3 separate regions of the Homo sapiens genome follow, and all the other regions are linked to region 1. The links are contacts of gene promoters, found by promoter capture Hi-C in human tissues and cell types (Jung and others, 2019). All regions are on one chromosome and are shown on one strand. The core of a region is centred on a gene start or on the middle of the fragment in contact, and the rest is flanking DNA. Distances in the headings are between cores, read along the strand shown. Region 1 holds the start of GPSM2 (G protein signaling modulator 2). Region 2 overlaps FNDC7 (fibronectin type III domain containing 7). Region 3 overlaps HENMT1 (HEN methyltransferase 1).

Region 1 (4,586 bases), core at 818-3,317:
GCTACAACAAAACACAGCACCTAAAGGCATCTTTAAAGTAGAACTTGTCCCTACAAATGGAATCCAGAGACACAGCAGAGATTTAAACAGACACACAGAAGCAATACAGCATGTGCTTTGGGATCAGGCCATGATTTGAATCTCGGCACAGTGACTTATTAGTTATATGATCTTACGCTAAACTCTCAGTTGGTGTGGGCATAATGACACTTACCTAAAATGTGCTGTGATAATTACAGACATGATTTATAAAGCACCTGACCCAGCACCTGGCTCTGATACATAACAAAAGTACTCAACATAGTGCTGTAGTAATAACAGTAACTGTTATTATAAAATAGACATATTTAATATATATTCAAATAAATTTAGAATAACCTAAATCTATGTCAGATTTTCCATTTTAAAATTCCAGAGAACTAATTACAAATTTCTAAAGATAGATCTTAGAAATATTTTATGTTTATGAAAAGGTCATTTTTAAAACTACTATATCTTATCACTGTTTTAATTAGTCTAGTAAGCAAGTCTCAGATCTATATTAAAATATGTTTGTAACACCGAATATCTGATTTAAGAATGTAAGAAAATACAATTAAACTGCTTATCTGGCCAGAGAGGATTTTGGAGACATGCCTCTACAACAACATCACACAACTTTTTACTTTGAAACCGCTCCAATACTTAAATTATAAGTAATAGCCTGGGAAATAGCTTGCGAAAACGACTCCGTGGTAGTTGTAAAGAGAAGTAGGTGTGAGACCACCCCTAATCCCTGAGGCCCCCCTCTCCTTACACACACCATGTCAACCAACAGTGATCTACCCTTTTTAATGTTGTTTATTCACTTCTAAACAATCAACTAAAGCTGCTCCTGAATAGTGAGAACCCAATCAAAAGTGGTATTTATCAGAAGCAATCACACCGGCTATTATCAGGCCAGAAATCTTCGGTACACCCTTCTAAAGTGGCAGCTTGAAAACTCAGCTCTGTTGGTCCTGCTGACTTCCAACACACCCCACGAACGCTCCAATGCAAACCCGATAGAAAGGAAAGCCAAGAACCTACTTCGTTTAATTCTACGGTGTGGTTAAATTATGCATTAAGGCCAATAAAATTTCCATCCTTACTCGTTTTCTTTAACAGAGTTCAAATGCTACTAGTTCAAATGCTCTAACTGGTTACTATTAAAACAAGGAAATTACAGATTTTTTTTTATTCGAAGGTATTCTATAGATTTCAGGAAAGAGTTTTCTTAACGTTTTATGTTTACTTACTCTTTTTGCAGCAACTACCAATTTCTATGGTAAATCGACCAGTTGGTGCCCAAAAGTTCACTAATTTAAGCACGGTCAAGGCAGGTATTTGCCATAAACTGCCTGGTTTAGGTAGGACGCGCCCGACTCCAAGTGATTGCAATCAGCCTCGGAATGAATTCCACGGGGATTCGGGCTTTGATTCACAATTTGTTACTCACATTCAGAGTGGTAAGAAGTCGCTGGACTCTAGTATAGTTTTTATCTTAAAAAAAAAAAAAGACTCAGGAGTGAGGCTCTTAACGCTTTACTCTCATTTGAAGACCTTCCGACAAAAAAGCAGCAACTCCTCAAGCCGAGTTTCTGGTTTCTTGAGCATCGACGCCGCGTCCCCGCAGCGCCCACAGGTCCCGCAAGCCCCCAGCCCGCCTCCTGCCCAAAACAAAGGACGTCACCCCCAGACCTCTGGACACAGAAGCCCCACACGCACGCACACGCACCCCTCCCTGTCACCTCCCTCCGAGAGCCCCTCAAACGCCTCAGAACCCGCGTCGCGGAAGCGCTCACCTCCCGCGGGCGGGCGGGTCCCGGGTACGCGGTGAAGGTGCAGCGGCGGCCGCCTCGGGCGACAGACGGGTGGTCACGGCCCCTCCCCAAGGCAGGGGCACCGCAGGAGGCCGGCGCGCCCCCTGCTCCCGCCCCCGGCAGGTCACGTGGGCCAGAGCTCGTAGCGCCCCTCGCTTTCCCGGAGCGTCCCTCCGCCACCTAGGGGTCCCGCCGCTCCGCCGGTCTCAACACCGCCCTCCTCTGCGCCTGCGCCCCGGCTCCAGGCGCTCTCATTCAAACCGACAACGCCCCGCGTCTTTCGGACCGGCCAATGGCGGGCGGCGCAGCGGGGCGGGGCGGGGCGCTGGTTGCCCCCCTCTTCGCAGTCCTGGGGAACCGTCTGCGTGTCAAGGTGACAGGGGGCTTGGGAGCTTGGTCCTCCTCTGCTCCGGGACGTGTCCTCAACCCTCAGACTGAAGTTTCTTTCCTGTCCTCTTCTTTCTTCTTCAGACACTAAAAAGTAGAGCAATAAATATTGTCTAGAGTTGGCCGGGCGCTGTGACGGACGGCTATAATCCCAGCACTTTGGGAGGCCGAGGCGGGCGGATCACCTGAGGTCGGGAGTTCGAGACCAGCCTGACCAACATGGAGAAACCCCGTCTCTACTAAAAATACAAAATTAGCTGGGAGTGGTGGCGCATGCCTTTAATCCCAGCTACTCAGGAGGCTGAGGCAGGAGAATCGCTTGAATCCGGGAGGCGGAGGTTGCCGTGAGTGGAGATCGCACCATTGCACTCCAGCCTGGGCAACAAGAGCGAAATTCCATCTCAAAAACAAAACAAAACAAACAAACAAAAAACATCGTACAGAGTTCAGATAGAGGCTGGCCTAGATCCCTTTAAAAAAGGAGCGCAAAACCAGCGCCGCCTTTTTGGAAGACTTGGTGCTGCGCTACAGAATGAGTGTCCCAAGCGGCAGATGCGGGATATAGAAGAAAAAGAGGCCTCTGTGGAAGGAACAGAGGGACCGTGTGAAAGTCTGAACAAGGCAGCCTCAGTTCTTGAGGCTGTGCCCAACCCTGGCGTTTCCAGCTGTTGGAAAAGCAAACTTCTGTTGACTACAGAATCGCTGGTTCCCAGGAAAATTGGGTGGCAGTTTTACTCAGTTTCACTCAGTTTCAGCGCCTACATTCTAAAGACACTGGGAAGAATAAGTTTTATTTCCATTCACCTCTCCTCCATGTCAAGGTGACCCCAAAATAGTAGTCACCTTATAGTTTGTTCTTCACAAAATACCGGCCGGGCGCGGTGGTTCACATCTGTAATACCAGCAACTTTGGGAGGCCGAGGCGGGGGGATCACCTGAGTTGGAGACCAGCCTGGTCAAAATGGTGAAACCCCGTCTCTACTAAAAATACAAAAATTAGCCGTGCCTGGTGGTGGGCGCCTGCAATCCCAGCTATTCGGGAGGCTGAGGCAGGAGAATTGCTTGAACCCAGGAGGCGGAGGTTGCAGTGAGCCGAGATCGCGCCACTGCACTCCAGCCTCGGCGACAGAGCGAGACTCCGTCTCAAACAACAACAAAAACCAAAATACCAAGACCAGAGTCTCTCTGGGGTAAAGCATCTGATGAATTTACTTAGATTATTTTTCAAATAGATATTTCTCTTCTGAAATGAAGTTTAAATGTTTCTACAGGGTAAAGGCTATGTTAAAGAAAACTCCGGGTTCAGTATCTCCGTGAATGATGGCCATAACCAGTGATCCAAGCAACATTTCCCATTAGGTGCATGTTATGGCAAATTGCTTAAAGGAACAGCTTTATCATCAAACTAGACCTGGGTTTGAGTTCCAATTCTGCTACTTACTTGCTGATTGACCTTGAATGAGTTATCTTCTTTAGTCTTAGTTTCCCCACCTGTAAAACATAATAAAGCCTCTTCTAATAAGGGTTGCTATGATGCTTCTGTGAGGTAAGGTTGTTAAGTGGTTGACATAGGGCCTGACACATAGAAACTGCTCCATACTTGATACCTATTATCGTTACAACCATCTTTAATATCAGGTTCTTGTAAATAACAATGGAATTGGTTGGCTGTACTGTTTCAGAGGTAGGTATTAATTCCTTCTTAATTATAAATTCTTTTAAAGTATGGATACTGTGAAAGCCACAAAGGAAATTTTATATATATAGAGAGAGAGACAGGACCTCCCTCTGTCACCCAGGCTGGAGATCACTGCACAGCAGCCTCAACCTCCCAGGGCCAAGTGATCCTCCGATCTCACCCCTCCCCTACACCCCAGTAGCTGGGACCACAGGAGCTTGACACTATGTCTGGCTATTTTTATTTTTTCAGTAGAGAAAAGGTCTCACTATGTTGCCCAGGCTGGTCTTGAACTCCTGGGCTCAAAGGATCCTCCTGCCTTGGCCTCCCAAAGTGCTGAGATTATAGGCATGAGCCCCCTCACCCAGCCAGAAGTACAACATTACATTCAACATGTCCAGAATTATTTACCCCCTGCAAATCTTCTCTTACATATGTGATTTCTATCTCTGATATTAGTTACTTCCATCTTCCTAATCACTCAAATTGAAAAATATCTTTTAAATGGCATAAGTCAGATTATGTCACTCTCGTACTCGTAAACCTTTAGTGATTTCCCATTTAATTTAAAATAAAATCCAAACTTCCTGTGGGGGAAAAGGCCTTAAGCCATCTTGCCCCTGCCAATTTCTCTCTTCTCTCCTATTTTTTCCTCCTGCTGCCTCACTTTCCTCCAAGTA
Region 2 (4,665 bases), core at 986-3,485, 140 kb after region 1:
TGCCTATAGTCCCAGCTACTTGGGAGGCTGAGGCAGGAGGATTGCTTGAGCCCAGGAGGTCAAGGCTGCATTGAGCAGTGATTGCACCACTGAACTCTAGCCTGGATGAAAAAGCAAGACCCTTTCTCAATAAAAAACAAACAAAAAAACCCCACAAAAAAAAACAATTTCTCTGTCCAGTACAGTGGACACTGAAGTAGCTATTGAACATATGGCTAGTTTGAACTAAATGTACTATAAGTACAAAAGACACACCAGATTTCAAAGACAGTATGAAAAATGTACAAAATATCTATTAATAATTTTTATATTGATTAGATGTTGAAATGATAATATTTTGGATATATTGGGTTAACTAAAATATATTATGAAATTAATTTCACCTCTTTTTACTTTTTTAATATGGCTACTAGAAAATTTAATTTTTCATGCATGGTGCATATTAAATTTCTATTGAACAGTGCAGGTATAAGTAGACAGGGGACAGATTATAAGGGACTGTGAACACCATGCCCAGAGGATTGAATGTTATCTTATGGGGAAATGGAAAAGTTTTGAAGATGTGGCAGCATAAAAGTAACACAATTGGACCAGTGTCCTGGAATGATAACTCTGGTAGCATTACAGAGGCTGGAGTGAGGACAGGGAGATGGGACTGGTGCAGTAGTCTAGGGGAGAGGTGGTGAGGGCCTGAGGCATAGCAGTAGCTGTGGGAATGAAGAGAAGACTCGGGATTTAGGAACCATCATGAAGGTGACCAGGACGAGAATTCGAGATTACTTAGATATGGAGGGTGAGGGAGACAGAAGCTGACTCCAGGGTTTTTAGCTAATGTACCTGAAACAAGGACGATGGGAGGAAGATCAGAAACAGCAGAGGATCAGGAGTTCCTTTTGCCCCTGAGGGGTTTGAAATGCCTGGGCACCTCCAGGTGGAGGTATCAAATTTGAATACGGACTTAGGGGTCAGGAGAAGAGAAGAGTTGTAGATAGAGATTTGGGAGCCTCTGAGCTTCAGTTTTCTCATTTACAAAGTGGAGATAATGAAATATGTTGAGCCTATAGCATAGCATATTTTGAGCATTTGATGAGATTTGTGATATGAAACCACTGGATAAATTATAAAATATTATGCAGTTATGATGCAGTATTGTTATTGAGCTGTAGACTCATCTTCCTAAGAGCTCATCCTGACACCAGGAACCTATTCCTGTCCCTTCCCATAGGGCTATGCTTTGGGCCAGCTTGTCCTGTGGACCAAATAATGGAAAAACAAGGAATCAGAGCATGACAGCCAGGGACAATGAGAACAGCCCCTTGGGAGGAACTGTCCTCCTTCCATCACCAAGGGCCATCCTGAACCTCCTGTCACCTACATATCATTCAAAATTTTAGATTCTGGCTATCAGTAAGGGCTTGTGAGCCAATATTTATTCTTTTTTTCTGTGTTCACCTGCAAAATTCTAGGGCTTCATCATCTCTTTTCTTCTAGGAATACATGAAAAATATATGACTGTGCCCTGGGCAAGGTAGCAGAAGGTGCTGGAACACAGAGCGGAGAATTGCTAATGTTTTCCTGCCAGCTCTGGTGAGATGGTAGTTGCTGACAGCCATGCTTTGTGATCACAGATTGTCTGCCCACTCATATTGCCAAGCCTAGCTTGTGATTTATAAATTTATTTTTTCTGATCCTCTAACTTTTCCTCAGTCATAATTCTCAGTCTGTGCAAATAAAAGTTCAAGTTTCCTAATTTCCAACATCCCAGGATGTCTATCATTATCAGCAAGACTATGTTAAAAAATCTATCCCTAAATCTCAAAGCAGAAAATTATCTTAAATTTGCTTTACTAATTAAGCAGCAAGCATCTAGTCCTTTTTAGGAAGGGGAAGAGTGGGACAGAGAAGATAATCTCTAAATTAAATAAAGCATCACAATTCCAAAGAATCTTGGGGTCTTCCACAGCCAGAATCTGCCTGTGCTGTGTAGAAATTTTATACCCTTGACTGGGTGCAGTGGTTCATGCCTGTAATCCCAGCACTTTGGGAGGCTGAGGCAGGAGGATCACCTGAGGTCAGGAGTTCATGACCAGCCTGGCCAATATGCTGAAGCCCCGTCTCTACAAAAATACAAAAATTACTCAGGTATGATGCCAGGTGCCTGTAATCGCAGCTACTTGGGAGGCTGAGGCAGGAGAATTGCTTGACCCTGGGAGGTGGAGGTTGCAGTGAGCCAAGATCATGCCATTGCACTCCAGCCTGGGCGACAGAGTGAGACTGTCTCAAAAAAAAAAAAAAAAAAAAAGAAAGAAATTTTATACCCTCTGTGCCCTTCATACATAGTAAATAAGTTTGATTGCATCTTAATTCACAGATATGAGTTCAGGGTTAGTTTTAGATAAACTGTCATAACTTGCTTTACCTGAATATATTTTTTTTGGACAGAAAGTAAGCTTCAATCCTGTTTTAGCAACTGGTGAGACCATCACAGTGTATACATCCCCACAGGGTATCTCAGTGACATCACAGAAACTGAGGCCAGCACTCGGGGTGCACGTGAAAATGCCTTTGGAGCCATAGAGGTCAGTGCTGTAATTGGCAGAGCCCCTGGAGGCTTGCCAGTAGATCCGGATGCCATTAGGGCCCAGCCTATATAATTTCACCCCCAAAGGGCAGCAGGCACCTAGGCAATAAAAATAACAAACACAAAATCACTTGTTTTATTCCACCATCATCCAAAAATGGCCTTGATTACTGCAGGGAAAAAATATAAGCAAACTAGTCTAAGTAACAGGATTAATTACTGGTTAGATCAGAGCAAGATTTGAAGGGGTACTCGAGTTATTTCCATGGTGGGCCACATAATCAGAAATCCATGGGTGGCTGGGCATGATGGCTTATGCCTATAATCTGAGTACTTTGGGAGGCCAAGGCAGGAGGATCGCTTAAGCCCAGGAGTTTGAGACCAGCCTAGGCAACATAGGGAGACCCTGACTCTACAAAAAAAAAAAAAAAAAAATTAGCCAGTTGTGGTGGTGCACACCTGTGGTCCCCTTGGGAGGATGAGGCAGGAGGATGGCTTAAGGCCAGGAGTTCAAGGCTGCTGTGAGCTATGATTGTGCCACAGCACTCACTCCAGCCTAGGTGACAGAGCGAGATCCTGTCTAAAAAAAAGAAAGAAAAAGAAAGAAAGACAGACAGAAAGAAAGAAAGAAAAAAGAGAAAAGAGAGGGAGGGAGGGAAAGAAAGAAAGAGAGAGAGAGAGAAATCCATGTGTGAAGGTGGTGTGCAGTATGAATTTTTAATACAGAACAATGGTGAGTCAGAAAGGTCCAAAAATTGGCAGATACATATTGTACATGATTCAAACTGTGAGTCAAAGGCACAGAATCCTTGTCAAGATCCCTCATAATGCCCTAGTTTTATTTGATTTTGGTGGCATTAAACTTAAATATAATTAACTGCATTCAGCCTTAATTGAAGAACCAATTTTGCCGAGATGAGTAGTATGACACTTTAGGTGCAGCCATTTATACAACATGCCAGTGACCAAGTTTGCTGGTCCACGCTTCATCCATGGTAGCTGATTAGTATTTTTTTTTTTTTTTTTTTTGAGACGGAGTCTCGCTCTGTTGCCCAGGCTGGTCGGCTCACTGCAAACTCCGCCTCCCGGGTTCACGCCATTCTCCGGCCTCAGCCTCCCGAGTAGCTGGGACTACAGGCGCCCGCCACCACGCCTGGCTATTTTTTTGTATTTTTAGTAGAGACGGGGTTTCACCATGTTATCCAGGATGGTCTTGATCTCCTGACCTCGTGATCCGCCTGCCTCGGCCTCCCAAAGTGCTGGGATTACAGGCATGAGCCACCGCGCCAGGCCACTGATTAGTATTTTTTTCCTTTTCTAAATACCTTGAGCAAGCCACACATTAGGTGCCAATAAGGGCATCAAATGGATTCCTTAGTAACTAAGTTAAAGATCCTACTGTATAATTTTTAAAAGTTATTATAATCAGGCTTACTTGATTTATTCTTAAAAGAATAAGCAATGGGTCATATTCTGAGAACTGGATATCAAGGTGAGAACTTAAGCAGTAAATCTAATACAAGATAATGGGTCAAAAGAAAGTACATACCAGCTGACATACGTGCAGCATGTTCTGAATGTTCTCACATTATGATTTATTTTGATTCTCAAAACAACTTCGAAGGAAAATATTACTATTCCTGTCTTTTTCAATGAGGAGACAGAATCAGGGAAGATTAGGCAACACAGCTTATTAGAATCCATGTCTAATTTTGACTCCCAGTTAAGACTCTTTCTACTACCTCTAGGATGCCAAAATTATATTCCAACTCTTCCATCCCATGCCCCAGGCAGAGGTAACTTATCATTGTACTTTTTCTCCTTAAGCCTAGGAAGCATCCTCAAGAGTTTTATCAAAACCGTGTTACAAGCAGCCACTTCAGTGAATTAGAATCATGCAAGAGATTTGGTAACCTTGCACTGCTTTTACTTTCCCCTGCTATTCCCTAATGGTTTGGTCTTTGTGAAGAACAAGGTACAATACTGTCAGTAGACAGATGTCTTTGCTCTCTTAGCCTGTTGAAATAAGAAACCATTGAAGCAGCTGAAGAAGCTTAGAAAAGAGAGGTAGTAGCACAATAATA
Region 3 (4,806 bases), core at 733-3,232, 230 kb after region 1:
ATACCCAAGCTTACAGCAGGAAAGGTTCTTTAAACTTGTGTTGGTTAATGAGGTGTCCCAACAAGTGGAAAGCTTAAGAGTGAGCCACCTGCCAAGGCGGAAAGAACAGGCTGGGGAACGGGGTGATAAGCCCAAAGACATTGGTGGCTCAAAGGCCCCTGTCCCATGCTTTGGACCAGTCTTCACAGAGGTTGAGAAGGCCAAGATAGAGAACTCTCCCACACCCTTCTGTGTTGGAGATAAATTTTTCGTACCTCTGCAGAGACTCCTTGCGTATCCCAAGTTGAACCGCTTATGTGCTAATGAAGAGATGATGAGATCAGTCATTGCTGACTCAATTCCTCTGAGCAGTGATGGTTCTGCAGTGGTGGCTGACCTGCGTAATTATTTTGATGAACAGTTTGAGTTTTGAACCATGTTTATTTCCTGAAATTTCAGGGTCTCAGCGATAGTTGTGCTCACTTAGAATTTAGTTTTTTTTGTGTAATCCTAATTCAAGTAATGTTTTTAAAGTTTCACTGCAAAAGTCTATGTTCCAAGCCATTGGACAGACCTGCTTGAGATATGGCCAGACTGCAGTGAGCCCTGAGAAAGATATGAGGGTTTAAAACGGGTGCTTTCCTTTGATTTTGGACTTTTTTGTTTTCTCAAGAATAAAGAAGTTGGATGTGGTAATATGTTAATTTTGAACTTACCTATTTTTTTTGTGTTAAAGCCATGAGTTGATTGTTGTTAGTCTGTTCTCACATTGCTGTGAAGAACTACCTGAGACTGGGTAATTTATAAAGAAAAGAGGTTTAATTGACTTACAGTTCTGCAGGCTGCACAGGAAGCATGCAGGAAGCTGGGGAGGCCTCAGGAAACTTACAGTCTTGGTGGAAGGCGAAGGGGAAGCAGGCACGTCTTATATAGCTAGAGCCGGAGGAAGAGAGCTTGGGGAGGTCTACACACTTTTAAACAACCAGGTTTAATAACAAGAATAGCAAGGGGGAAATCCGCCCTCATAACCCAATCACCTCCCACCAGCCCCCTCCTCCAATATTGGGGATTACAATTTGACATGAGATTTGGGCAAGGACAGAAATACAAACCATATCAATTGTGATATTAAAAATTTAAGAGAAAGTTATCAAATATAGTGTTCAAAACCTTTTCTTTGGGGTAAGAGTAGCTTTAAAATTTTTCTGGGATTCTCTATCTCCTTAATGCCAAATTCTAACCTGTGTAATATTTAGCCTAGAACATCAATAAAACAGGAATGCAGGTGGTTGGAGGGCATAGAAGCCTCTTCATGATGTAATTGCTGTCCATGTTTTGTTGTTGTTGTTGTTGTTTTTTTGAGACAGGGTCTTGTTCTGTTACCCAGGCTGGAGTGCAGTGGCACAATCATGGCTCATTGTAGCCTCAGCCTCTGGGCTAAAATAATCCTCCCACCTCACCTCCTCCCCACCAGTAGCTTGAACTACTGGCATGTACCACCATGCCCAGCTAATTAAAAATTTGTAGAGATAGGGTCTCACTATGTTGCCCAGACTGGTCTTGAACTTCTGGGCTCAAGTGGTCCTCCTGCCTCAGCTTCCCAAAGTGCTGGGATTGTTTTTTGAGCACCCTCTTCTGAGGATGGAATTGGGGTGGTAGTACTTCTCTGGTTGGAATTGGGGTGGTAGTACTAATGGGAGAAAGAAACATAGCTTCACCTCATGGGGGAAAACAGTAGTTTAAATGAGAGGCATTTCTTAGGCACAGGAGTCCAGAGGTAAGCCCCAGGCATGGGAGCTCTGCCACTTTTGGGACCCAGACGTCCATCTTGCATGTTGTGGCTACTTAGTATGCCATCCAGGGACAGAGAGAGAGATTTGAGCTCTGGCTACTACTTTCATATTCTGAAACAGCAGAAAGAAGAGAAGGGACAAAGGGCACACACAAGCTGTCTGGTAAAGCTTGCTGTGGGTTGTTACGCAACACGACTGCTTACTTCCTGTTGATCAGAATGTGGTCTTCAGGCCACACAAAGGGAAGCTGATATATTAGTCTGTTCTTGCATTGCTGTAAAGAAATAGCAGAGACTGGGTAATAAAGAGGTTTATTGGCTCATGGTTCCACAGAGTGTACAGGAAGCATAGCAGCTTCTGCTTCTGGGGAGGCCTCAGGAAACTTCCAGTAATGGCAGAAGGCAAAGGGTTGGGGCGGGGCGAGGCATCTCACATGGTGGGAACAGGAGCAAGGCGGAGCGAGGGGTGGTGCTGAACACGTTTAAGCAGGTCTTGGGCGGACTCTGTCACGAGAACAGCACTAAGGGGATGGTGCGAAACCATTCACAAAGGACCCACCCCCATGATCACTTCCCAGCAGGCCCCTCCTTCAATATCAGGGATTACAGTTTGACATGAGATTTGAATGGGGACACAGATCCAAACCGTATCAGCTGCGAAATACAGTTTTTATTCTGGGAGGTCATGTGTCCACTTGGTCTGCCAAGGAACAAGGGGAGAAGGAACACTGGCAAATAACCATCTGTGCCACAGCTAGGACATCCTGAGCGGTCTGGAATGGGGGCTATGGAGATGCAGAGTTGGTGCCTGGGAGAGGGCTGGGGGGAGTAATTCTCAAGCTGAGTTTCCAAGGGTTAATAATTAAGCAGATGGGAAGGGGATTTGGTGAGGGGGGAGAGAATTGAGGGATTCTGATGAGAACCGTCTTTTAATCACATTACATTGGTAAACCAGCTGTTTTTTCCTTGAATTTCTAATACTGCTATCAGACTTCCCCCATGAATGCTCAAAGGTGCACATGAACAAGAGATTTGTAGCCCCACCCTATTCCTGCTCTCAAAGGCCCTCTGTCCGTCCTCACCTTTCTAGGCCTCTGCAGTTTTCACTCTAGAGTTCCCTTCTCATCATTGCTCTTCTGTGGTAGAGCCAAGGTTTCTAGCCAAGACCAGCCGTTTCTCTGATCTTTCTTGAAAGTTAATCAGTTAACTTTGTTCGAGCCTAATCACTGGAGCCCCCATGTGGAAACATTTTAAGTGCTCATGACTGCCATGGGGGCTGGAGCTGCTCTTCCCCATGGCCTTCCCGCTCTCTCTGCGGCTTCTGTACCTACGTTCTTCTTGAGAAGTTTGTCTTTCCCCCAACCTGGATACAGGCCTTTCTTTGCACACTGAAAGGCTCATTAATACTTGAGGTCAGGGGTTGCCAGACGTGCTTTTGGGGCTAGACAGTAAATCTTTGCAGGTGATCCAGTCTCTATCACAACTATTCAACTCTGCTTGAGTCAAAGCCACCACAGACAATGTGAAAACAAGTGCGCTGAGCAGGAGACAGAGTTTAATCTGCAGTCTTCTTTGAGAGAAGGTTCTCACTGCCACTGCCCACCTCCCAGACTAGATACGAAATCTGCACTACCAGGTATTGAAACCTCCCTGGCCCTTGAGATCTGAATATAATTTGCCTCCAACTCCTATTTCCATAGTCTGGGTAACTCCAAAACTCTGAGACTTCTATGATTTCCTAAAAGCTTACGTTATCACAGCACTGCCTGCCTTCAAGTTCAGTTCCATACAACTGAGATGTGAATCTCAGCCCCTTCTATGCTGCTCCGAGGCTCCTCAAACACATCCCACCTTACCCTCCTTCTCATCTGGCAGCAGCTCCCAGCTCACCTTCCCCAGCTGCCCTCGCTTGCCCCACCCCCTCCCCTCCTTTCCTGTGACTGCCAACCTGCTGCCCCACGGCACGCCCAGCAGTTCAGCTCCCTTCAAGTGTTCTCAGCCCTCAGTTCTGCCAGCGGTTATCAAGGGAGAACTCCAAATAAAGGCAATTTCTTCAACTAGAGTTTGGGTGCCAAGAACATTAAATCTTTATCTCGTTATGCCTGGTCCTGTGGAGACTGTGTGTCGAGCAGTTGACAGGAAGTCAGGGACTGAGCAGTGTCAGCAGTGGCAATGTGGTCTTTTGAAGACTGAGAACTGTGGGTTTCTGCCTTCATGAAGGATGCTAGGTGCTAACTACAGCAAACATGGCTTATCATTATATTTGTGAACCTCGAACATTTGAGACAGGTCTCAGCTAATTTAGAAAGTTTATTTTGCCAAGGTTGAGGACACGCTCCCATGACACAGTCTCAGGAGGTCCTGACAACATGTACTCAGGGTGGTCGGGGCACATCTTGGTTTTATACATTTTAGGGAGACATGAGACATTAATCAATATATGTAAGAAGTACATTGGTTCCATCCAGAAAGGCGGGGACAACTCAAAGCAAGGAGGGAGCTTCCAGGGCACTGGTAGAGGAGAGACAAATGGTTGCATTTTTTTGAGTTTCTGATAAGCTTTTCCAAAGGAGGCAGTCAGATATGCATCTACCTCAGTGAGCAGAGGGATGACTTTGAATAGAATGGGAGCTAGGTTTGCCCTGAGTAGTTTCCAGTTTGAATTTTCCTTTCGCTTAGTGATTTTAGGGGTCCAAGATATTTTCCTTTCACATATATGATGCACATCCTTGGTGATATCTAGAAAAAGGGGACAGCTGGGAATATTGCTGAGGTCTAGCAAACAAGCTGCTAGGAGCTGGAAGTTGGAAATGTGTATAGTAAATGTTAAATACAAGCTTTTGAAGCCAGCAGTATGTGTTAATACCTTTTATCTTGAAAGTTAACAATTCATGTCCTCTATTTCTCTGTTGGGTTCTTAATGTTCCTGCTGAATTGTGTGTACTCTGCCTGCACACTTTTGCCTCCACTGCTGCAACAATCTCATTTCTTTCTACATGCTCAACTTCATCCTGCATGCTAGACTCAAGCTAGAA

The links. The method cuts DNA at HindIII sites, captures the fragments that hold promoters and counts their contacts. A contact is called where the count stands out against the background at its distance.
Region 2: a contact is called between a fragment that was not itself captured here and the fragment with the promoter of GPSM2 in region 1, in 1 of the 25 tissues and cell types used here (mesenchymal stem cells).
Region 3: a fragment that was not itself captured here is called in contact with the fragment with the promoter of GPSM2 in region 1 in 2 of the 25 tissues and cell types used here (mesenchymal stem cells and pancreas).

Annotation. Positions count from the first base shown.
Region 1 is chr1:108,874,466-108,879,051 of GRCh38, reverse strand. It overlaps GPSM2 (G protein signaling modulator 2), which reads right to left and starts at 2,067. Exons shown (of 15, transcript NM_013296.5): 1 at 1,824-2,067. RefSeq lists silencers at 1,672-1,741, 1,832-2,231 and an enhancer at 2,312-2,411. The HindIII fragment of the contact is 24,726 bases long and covers 1-4,586 here.
Region 2 is chr1:108,731,287-108,735,951 of GRCh38, reverse strand. FNDC7 (fibronectin type III domain containing 7) reads right to left here. Exons shown (of 13, transcript NM_001144937.3): 10 at 2,420-2,680. Among named protein-coding and RNA genes, the nearest start is that of STXBP3, 13 kb to the left of the region's middle. The HindIII fragment of the contact is 6,375 bases long and covers 1-4,665 here.
Region 3 is chr1:108,644,172-108,648,977 of GRCh38, reverse strand. It overlaps HENMT1 (HEN methyltransferase 1), which reads left to right. Exons shown (of 8, transcript NM_001102592.2): 8 at 1-683. The coding sequence ends at 412. Among named protein-coding and RNA genes, the nearest start is that of HENMT1, 15 kb to the left of the region's middle. The HindIII fragment of the contact is 3,882 bases long and covers 42-3,923 here.